2 separate regions of the Homo sapiens genome follow, and region 1 is linked to region 2. Evidence: promoter capture Hi-C in human tissues and cell types (Jung and others, 2019). All regions are on one chromosome and are shown on one strand. The core of a region is centred on a gene start or on the middle of the fragment in contact, and the rest is flanking DNA. Distances in the headings are between cores, read along the strand shown.

Region 1 (4,543 bases), core at 706-3,205, 290 kb before region 2:
GGGCAGGGGTGTGGGGAACACCTCTTGCAGCAGGAAGATAAGTAAGCCGGGACAAGAGGTTATCACAGGCCCGGCTGTCCTTTCTGGGACGTAAGGGCGCTTGGCAGCCCCCCAAGCATCCTGGACTCCAACGTCTCTCTTGCTGGGCTCCAACGTCTCTCTTGCTGGGCTCCTCAAGATTCTGTCCTCCGGCTGGGCGCGGTGGCTAACGTCTGTAATCCCAGCACTTTGGGAGGCCAAGGTGGGTGGATCACTTTAGGTCAGGAGTTCGAGACCAGCCTGGCCAACATGGCGAAACCCTGTCTCTACTAAAAATACGAAAACTAGCCGGGGTTGGTGCCCTGTGCCTGTAATCCCAGCTACTCGGGAGGCTGAGGCAGGAGAATCGCTTGAACCTGGGAGGCGGAGGTTGCAGTGAGCCCAGATCACGCCACTGCACTCCAGCCTGGGAAATAGAGGGAGACTCTGTCTCAAAAAAAAAAAAAAAATCTGTCCCCGCTAATTACTGTGGGAGTCTAAGTCCTTTCCTTCTGCCCCTTGGAGGGGCTGACTCCTGGAGCAGCACCCCCTCCAATCCATCTATCCAGTAACCCATACTGTTAAGTTCCCTGAAGTAGAAGGGGGTTGGTGGGAGGAGCACGGCTGTGCTGGACCCTCCCCGCTAACTGATGGGAGGGTGAGGGGAGTTGGCAGTGAGAGGAAGGGCCCCTCCCAGCCATCCCGAGGGCCCCCAGGAGCCAGACAGGAAACAGCTCAGGAAAGACAGCAGCCGCAGCCGCAGCCCCAGCCTCAGGGGTCATGGCTGCGGGCGGCGGGGAAGCCCCCCCAAAACACGAGAGTGAGAGTGAGAAGGGCGATTTGGAGATCTAGCCGGACCCCTCACCCTCTCGGACACACCCACCTTTTTTTTTTTTTTTTTTTTTTTTGAGATTTCGTCTCACTCTGTAGCCCAGGCTGGAGTGCAGTGGCGCGATCTCAGCTCCCAGCTCACTGCAACCTCCGCCTCCTAGGTCCCGGTTCAAGCAATTCTCCTGCCTCAGCCTCCCGAGTAGCTAGGATTACAGGCGCGCGCCACCATGCCCAGCTAATTTTTGTATTTTTAGTAGAGACGGGGTTTCATCATGTTGGCCAGGCTGGTCTTGAACTCCTGACCTCAAATGATCCGCCTGCCTCTGCCTCCCAAAATGCTGGGACTACAGGCGTGAGCCACCGCGCCCGCCACACCCACCTTTTCTTTACCGTTGTTTCCTCGATTTTTCTCTACTCCCTAGCGCAGCTTAGTGCGCGCCTCCTCTGGACATTTTTCAGGGCTTGGTTGCGCGCACAGTAGGTCCCCAACACTGAATGTTTATGGGGTGACTGTGTGAACGTTCGCTGCAAGGCTATCCAAACTGGGATTGCTCCTTGAGGCCCCCTGGGCGGCCGTCAATTCTCCAAAGCTTCTACTCCCTTTTCCTTCCTTTTCCCCCAAAACGCAGTCCCTGCGCCCACTAGAGGGTGGTGGGCGCATCCAAGAGCGGCATCTAGAGTCCGCAGCAAGGTCAGAGCGGGCTTTGTGTGCGCGGTGAACATTTACGTGCACGCCTGGGCGGCCCTCCGTGTTGCTGCTGGGTGTGTGTTTTCTCTGCTCCCTGGTGCCAGCCGGGTTCGGGCCTGTCCCGGGGGTCCCTGGGCCCCAGCCCCGACATGCTCGGTCCTGGACAGCGCGCACCGCCACGGCGCACATCTGGGCGGTCCCGGGGTTCCTCACCCGCCGCCCCTCCCCCTTCTCCAAACTTTCTCTCAACTTCCCGACCTGCTCCACTCGGTGCCCCTCTCCGCTTCCCTCATGAATTATTCAGTAGCGTGAGCTCCAATCAGCGCGCCCGGGGCTCACTCGCGGAGCCCCCGCGTTGGGAGAGCTGCCCCCGCCCCCCGCGCGCCCCTCCCTCCCGGGCCCGGCGCCGCCCGGCCCAGTTCCAGCGCAGCTCAGCCCCTGCCCGGCCCGGCCCGCCCGGCTCCGCGCCGCAGTCTCCCTCCCTCCCGCTCCGTCCCCGCTCGGGCTCCCACCATCCCCGCCCGCGAGGAGAGCACTCGGCCCGGCGGCGCGAGCAGAGCCACTCCAGGGAGGGGGGGAGACCGCGAGCGGCCGGCTCAGCCCCCGCCACCCGGGGCGGGACCCCGAGGCCCCGGAGGGACCCCAACTCCAGCCACGTCTTGCTGCGCGCCCGCCCGGCGCGGCCACTGCCAGCACGCTCCGGGCCCGCCGCCCGCGCGCGCGGCACAGACGCGGGGCCACACTTGGCGCCGCCGCCCGGTGCCCCGCACGCTCGCATGGGCCCGCGCTGAGGGCCCCGACGAGGAGTCCCGCGCGGAGTATCGGCGTCCACCCGCCCAGGGAGAGTCAGACCTGGGGGGGCGAGGGCCCCCCAAACTCAGTTCGGATCCTACCCGAGTGAGGCGGCGCCATGGAGCTCCGGGTGCTGCTCTGCTGGGCTTCGTTGGCCGCAGCTTTGGAAGGTGAGTTTCCTTGCGGGGGGGGGCGCACCCCGTCACTCCTGGGACCTCCCCCCCAACATCTGGGCCTCGGAGTGGAGGGGCCGGCCTCTGACTACCCCTACCCGGGCACTGCAGTCCCAAACACTTCGGACCGATAGTGCTGGAACGGGAGGGGGGCGGGGAAGAGGCGCCCGACGGGTAGTGGAGTTTTCTTTTGTTTGGGAAAGAGATGGAGTCTGGCTACGACCCGGGACATTCCCCTGCCCGGGCTCCCCGAACTCTCACTGCTGATTACATACGCCCCTGGCTGCCTTTCCTTTCCTCCCTACCCCACTATTCAAAACTATCTGCAAAGTTTCTGTCCCAGTCCCACCTCCCGCCGTACATGAGGGAAGGTTTCTGGAGAAGCAACAGCAGACAAGGCACAACTTTTCGTGCTAGGCCCTAAAACGACCCCCAGCGCCAATTCCTTAGCGATCACACCTTGATCCTCCAGTTCCACACTCCTGCAACAGGATGGCCTCCTTTGCATTCACACAGCAAACCCCCAAACCGCTCTCCCGCCCACTGCTCCTGCCCCTGGTATAGGGTGGCTCCTTGGTTTCTACAGGCTGCACCCCATCCCTTTAAATGCGGTCTAGACCCCGGCCCCAGGTGAGTCCCGGGCTTCCCTTGAGACCTAGGAGCGGGTAGAAACTGACCTACACAGCCCCCAGGTAGAAACTGACCTACACAGCCCCCACATCGCCCTAACTAACCCAGTCTATCTCCCACCTCCTGGTCTCTCCAAGCATTTCTTTGGCCATGGATCGCTGTCCCTCCTGGTCCCCTAAAGGGGGAGCCAAGAGCCCTAGAAACTCTCCTGTGTCCCTAATGTCCTTTCAGTGAGCTGCCAACACCCCCCTTTCTCTGTCTGGTATGAAAGTGGTTATGGGGCGGTAGGCTATGAGGGACTCCCAAAGGGAAGGATTCAGCGGCGTTAGAAAAACCCTCTCCCCCTGGCTGGGCAGGACTGCCCTGGGCTGGGGATCAAAGGCTAGGTGTGGGGTTGGGAGTGAGGGGAGGCTTGCCCAGCTCAGAGAACGGAGAAGGGGGAACAAAAACCATGAACGAGGGGAAGAGGAAGGCCAAAGGGGTGGAAAAACCACGAGGACGAGGTGTGGTGAGAAGGAAAGACGCAAAGAGGAAATGGTGATTGTGACACCTATTACCTGAGTGTTTCCAAGCACCAGGCCTGTGCTGAGCGCCTTACAAATATTAATTTCACCCATCCAGCAACGCTAAGGGTGGTGCTATTATTGCCCCCATTTTTCAGATGAGGAGGCTGGGGCTTAGTTAAGGTTAAGTAGTTTATCCAAGGCCCTGTGCCGCGAGGAACAGCGAGAAGTGGAGGCCGAAAGCGAAGGAGAGATAGTGACTGTCAGAAAGAGAAACGGAGGTGGACAGAGAGTGGAGGAGAGATAGGTGAGAGACATGCGAACTGACAGATCAAAGCGTGGCTGCAGCTGAGCTGGGACGCAGAAAGGGAGCCTGCGCTTGCTCTGGGCTGCGGACAGCCCGAGGCAGAGACAGTGTGTAAATTGGAGACAGGAAAACACTATCCCGGCTGGAACAATGGAGGGTGGAGACGGCAGCCTCTATCCACCCCCTTCCCAGAACCCGGGCATCCTGTCCCCAGTGAGCAGGGCTGTCTCTTGCCACCCATGGGGACCTTGCGCCTCTCACCTCAGGCTGGCTGGCTTCCCATCTGACCCCTAGCTGGAGGACATCATTTGGTCCCCAGGAAGAGGCTGCCTCACCCACCCTCTTTCTCTTCTCTCCTGCAGCTCCCATGGGGTGGGAGCCAGGTGTTCTGGCTCCCCTCTCCACCCTTCCCAGCGCCCAATGCCCCCCACATTGCCGGCCCCCGAGGGGATTCCTGTACCCTCCCTCCTCCACTCTCCACTGCCAGGGGCTGTGCAGTTTTTCCTAATCCCCCCCCTTCCTCCAGTGCCTGTCCCCTCCCCCGATGATCCGAGCCAAGCCAGGTGTGTTCACCCCTCCCATTCATACCGCCCCCCAGAAT
Region 2 (4,153 bases), core at 305-2,804:
CAGGCGTGAGCCACAGCGCCTGGCTGGAAAGCATTTTTTAAAAAACAAAACAAAAACAACAGTGTCTTAAAATAAGACTAAAAAATTGTCAAAATAAATCCCTTGACAAACTTATTAAAAAACAGAGATCCAGGCCTGATATCAGATGTTAATCATGCATCTAACCAAATAATATCTTAATTTGGGAGTAGGAGGAGTGCAGAGGGGAGTGGAGGGGGCTTTACTATATAACCAGAAATCTAGGCTAGAATTGTGGCTGTAAATTCACTCTGGCATGACCGAACAGTACCAATGCCAAGAGTAGCACTCAGATGATGCACCAAAGCCCCCCCAAAATCTAGAGTTTCCTGGATGCTACCACCAGGATCCAGTCATGGCAACAGGGATCTTAAAGGTGTAAATGATTAACCTTCAGGATGGCTCACCTAGACGTGCAAACGTTTGAAAAAGCTAAGCTCTCTACCAGGGTAACCCATTGGCTCTCATCTCTTAGATTTCGTAAGAGTTTTACCTTCTGGGTAACATTTCAAAGCCCTGCTAAGATTAGTATCTACACCTGAACTCTGGACCATGGCTCCCTTCCAGCCACTATCTCTAGGCTGTCAATCGGGGTTAATTCGCTTTTTTTTTTTTTTTTAATCCTGTACTCTAATCATAGGAATTTCAACCAAGTTTCAGCTGGCTTCTGCATCTCACACTCCAGCAGGGACACAAGCCCGAAGGAAGAAAGGTGCCCGTCCATCTCCAGGCCGGCTTTCCCCACCTTTTTCCTTTTTGCTTTCCACCTGCATGAAGTTCCCTCTAAAGGTGCATGTCATTTTCTGGCCCTTTAAGTCCCGACACCCCATCCCACTCCGAGTTCCCTTCCATCCTCCGCACTTTCTCCCTCCCCACTTGCAGTTTGCCTCGACCCCCTCGGGGAGTTTCTCGGTCCCTCTCCGGGCGTCTTTCTGCACCCGTACCCTTCTCTCCGCAGAGCGACTCCGGCCTTGCTTCCTCTCCCCTGCCCTTTCCCCTCCCCACCACACCGCTGCAGCAGACGACCCCGTCCCCACAGCCGGCGCGTTCCCTGACCTCCCCTCCGCCCCTCACCTCGGCCCCCTTCCCTCGCGCCCCGGAGCCCCGGCCTCCCCACCCCGCCCCCGGGTCCCCCCACGCCGACCTCGGCCACTCCCTCCCGGTCACTCACAGGAGGCCGGAGCAGGTGGTGCACACGAAGCTGCCCACGGTGATATCCACGTAGGTGACCCCGCGCTGGGCGCACTCGAAGCAGTGGCGGTTCCCGGCCTGGCTGCAGCCACCCAGCTCCCGCACCCGACGGCACCACACCTCCGAGGCCGCCTCCGCCTCCGCCTTGCCCCCGCTGACCCCGCCGCCCGGGCCCGGGCCCTTCTTCGCCGCCATCACCATCGCTGCCCACTCCCTCCCCGCTAGTCAGCAATCACCCCTTCAACCACTGCCGCCTTCCCGCCTCCTCAGCCGCCTCCGCACGCCCGGCTCCCCTGACAGAAGCTCGGGAGCGGGCGGCATCCGCAGGAGACTTCGCCGTCCACCACCCTCCTTGCCCGTCCTGCACACTGATTGGCTAGGTTTCTCCCACCTCCTTACTCCGATTGGCCCTCCCTGGGACGGCCTCCGGTTGCTGGAGCCGCCAATGCCCCGCCCCACCGCCTTCAGGCCTCAGGCCTCTCCTATTGGCCGGCAGAGACCCCAGCAGCGAGAACCGTGCGTGCCCTCTCCTTGTCCCCGCCCCCTCTCGCCGCTGCCTCCACCGTGGCCCGCCTCCTAGTTCCGATTGGTGAGTCCTCGGCACTCGGGCTCCGACGCTAATTTTGATTGGCTGGCGGGGCTGCAAAGTTAGCGCGCGAGACAGAGGAGGTGCCCCGCGCGTGCGTAGCTGTCGTCCTCCCGACTGATGACGTTAATTCCCGGCAAATTTCAAAGGCTTACTCTAGACTGTGTAGAGTGTCATGCAAAGCCGAAGAGAAGTGGCCATGTGAGGGGCTGAGCAGGAGGGGGAAAGAAGAGAGCGCTTAAGGGAGAGAGGGAGAGGGAGCAAGAGTGCTTTACTAGACCAGTGCTCTAATTCCTGAGCCACAGAGCGAAGGGAGTGCTTTATAAATGTCATTTCATTCGCTCCGCCTATCCCAGAGGTGGAATCCCCATTTTACACCCTTAGGTTCAACAACTTGCGGCAGATCACACGAGTGCGTGGCCCAGGATTCCACTCTGGGTCTTCCAACTTTAGAAACCCTGCCTTTAACCCTCCTAGTAGGTGGACTATTATTCGATTATTCATTTAACAAACACTGAGTGTCTGCTAGGTTTCAGGCACGTTCTAGACACTGGGAATAGAATACAGCAGCGAAGCAATCAAACAAAATATTCTTATAGAGCTTAGTTTCTAGTAGGGGGAAGCAAACAATACACAAATTAAAGAATCACCAGTTAGTAATAAATCCTACGCAGAGAATTAAAATCACATCTTGGAAAAGACTTTTTGGGTACTTTTTTAATTTTTTAATTTAATTTTAATTTTTTGAGATGGAGTCTCACTCTGTTGCCCAGACTGGAGTGCAGTGGCACGATGTCAGCTCACTGCAACCTCTGCCTCCTGGGTTTAAGCAATTCTCATGCCTCAGTCTCCTGAGTAGCTGGGATTACAGGCGGCCACCACCACCCCCAGATAATTTTTGTATTTTTATTATTATGATTATTATTATTTGAGATGGAGTCTCGCTCTGTCGCCCAGGCTGGAGTGCAGTGGCACGATCTCGGCTCACTGCAAGCTTCGCCTTCTGGGTTCACGCCATTCTCCTGCCTCAGCCTCCCGAGTAGCTGGGACTACAGGCACCCGCCACCACGCCTGGCTAATTTTTTTGTATTTTCAGTGGAGACGGGGTTTCACCGTGTTAGCAAGGATGGTCTCGATCTTCTGACCTCGTGATCCGCCGGTCTTGGCCTCCCAAAGTGCTGGGATTACAGGCGTGAGCCACCGCGCCCGGCCAATTTTTGTATTTTTAGTAGAGACAGGATTTCACCATGTTGGCCAGGCTGGTCTCAAACTCATGGCCTCAAGTGAGCCTCCCGCCTTGGCGTCCCAAAGTGCTGGGATTACAAGCATGAGCCACAATGCCTGGCCACCTGTTGGGTACTTCAGATTGGGTTGGTCACCATTTTTAAAACAATTACTTTTTTTTTGAGACAGGGTCTCGCTTTATCACCCAGGCTGGAGTGCAGTGACACAATCATGGCTCACTGCAGCCTCAACCTTCTGGACTCAAGTGATCCTTCCACCTCAGCCTTCCAAGTAGCTGGGAGTACAGCTGTGCACCACCATGCCTGGCGAATTTTTAAAAATTTTTTGTAGAGATTGGGTCTCACTATATTGCCCAGGCTGGTCTGGACCTCCTGGGCTCAAGTGATCCGCCCACCTCAGCCTCCATCTCCCAGGTTCAAGCGATTCTCCTGCCTCAGCCTCCCAAGTAGTTGGGATTACAGGTGCGTGCCACCATGTCCAGCTAATTTTTGTATTTTTAGTAGAGATGGGGTTTCACCATATTGGCCAGGCTGGTCTTGAAGTCCTGACTTCAAATGATCCACCCACCTTGGCCTCCCAAAGTGCTAGGATTACAGACGTGAGTCACCGCACCCGGCCTCTTTTTGTTTTGTTTTGTTTTTTTTGTTTTTTTTTTTTTTTTTGAGACAAGGTCTTGCTCTGCTGCCCAGGTTGGAGGGCAGTGGCACAATCATACCTCACTGCAGCCTCAACCTCCCCAGTTCAAGTGATCCTCCCACCTCAGTCTCCAGGGTAGCTGAGACTACAGGCGCACACCACCATGCCTGGCTAATTTTTGATTTTTTGTAGAGAAGGGGTCTCACTATGTTGTCCAGGCTGGTGGCTGGCAGCCTGCTTTCTCTCTCTCTCTCTTGTTTTTTTCTTTTTGAGACAGGGTCTTACTCTGTCACCCAGGCTGGAGTGCAGTGGCACAATCTTGGCTCACTGCAACCTCCACTTCCTGGGGCTTGAGTGCTCCTCCCACCTCAGCCTCCCGAGTAGCTGGGACTACAGGTGCATGCCACCATGCCCAGCTAATTTTTTGTATTTTTAGCATGTTGGCCAGGCTGGTCTCGAACACCTGAGTTCAGGTCA

Evidence for each region. Contacts are between HindIII fragments. The study calls those that stand out against the background at their distance.
Region 1: the fragment with the promoter of EPHB4 here is called in contact with the fragment with the promoter of AGFG2 in region 2 in 2 of the 25 tissues and cell types used here (IMR-90 fibroblasts and liver).

What each region holds. Positions count from the first base shown.
Region 1 is chr7:100,824,935-100,829,477 of GRCh38, reverse strand. It overlaps EPHB4 (EPH receptor B4), which reads left to right and starts at 1,955. Exons shown (of 17, transcript NM_004444.5): 1 at 1,955-2,499. The coding sequence starts at 2,448. It also overlaps a transcript of SLC12A9 not described here. RefSeq lists enhancers at 1-359, 1,156-1,951. The HindIII fragment of the contact is 16,187 bases long and covers 1-4,543 here.
Region 2 is chr7:100,536,604-100,540,756 of GRCh38, reverse strand. AGFG2 (ArfGAP with FG repeats 2) reads right to left here and starts at 1,554. Exons shown (of 12, transcript NM_006076.5): 1 at 1,190-1,554. The coding sequence starts at 1,410. RefSeq lists silencers at 1,194-1,493, 1,544-1,823 and an enhancer at 1,703-2,204. The HindIII fragment of the contact is 17,077 bases long and covers 1-4,153 here.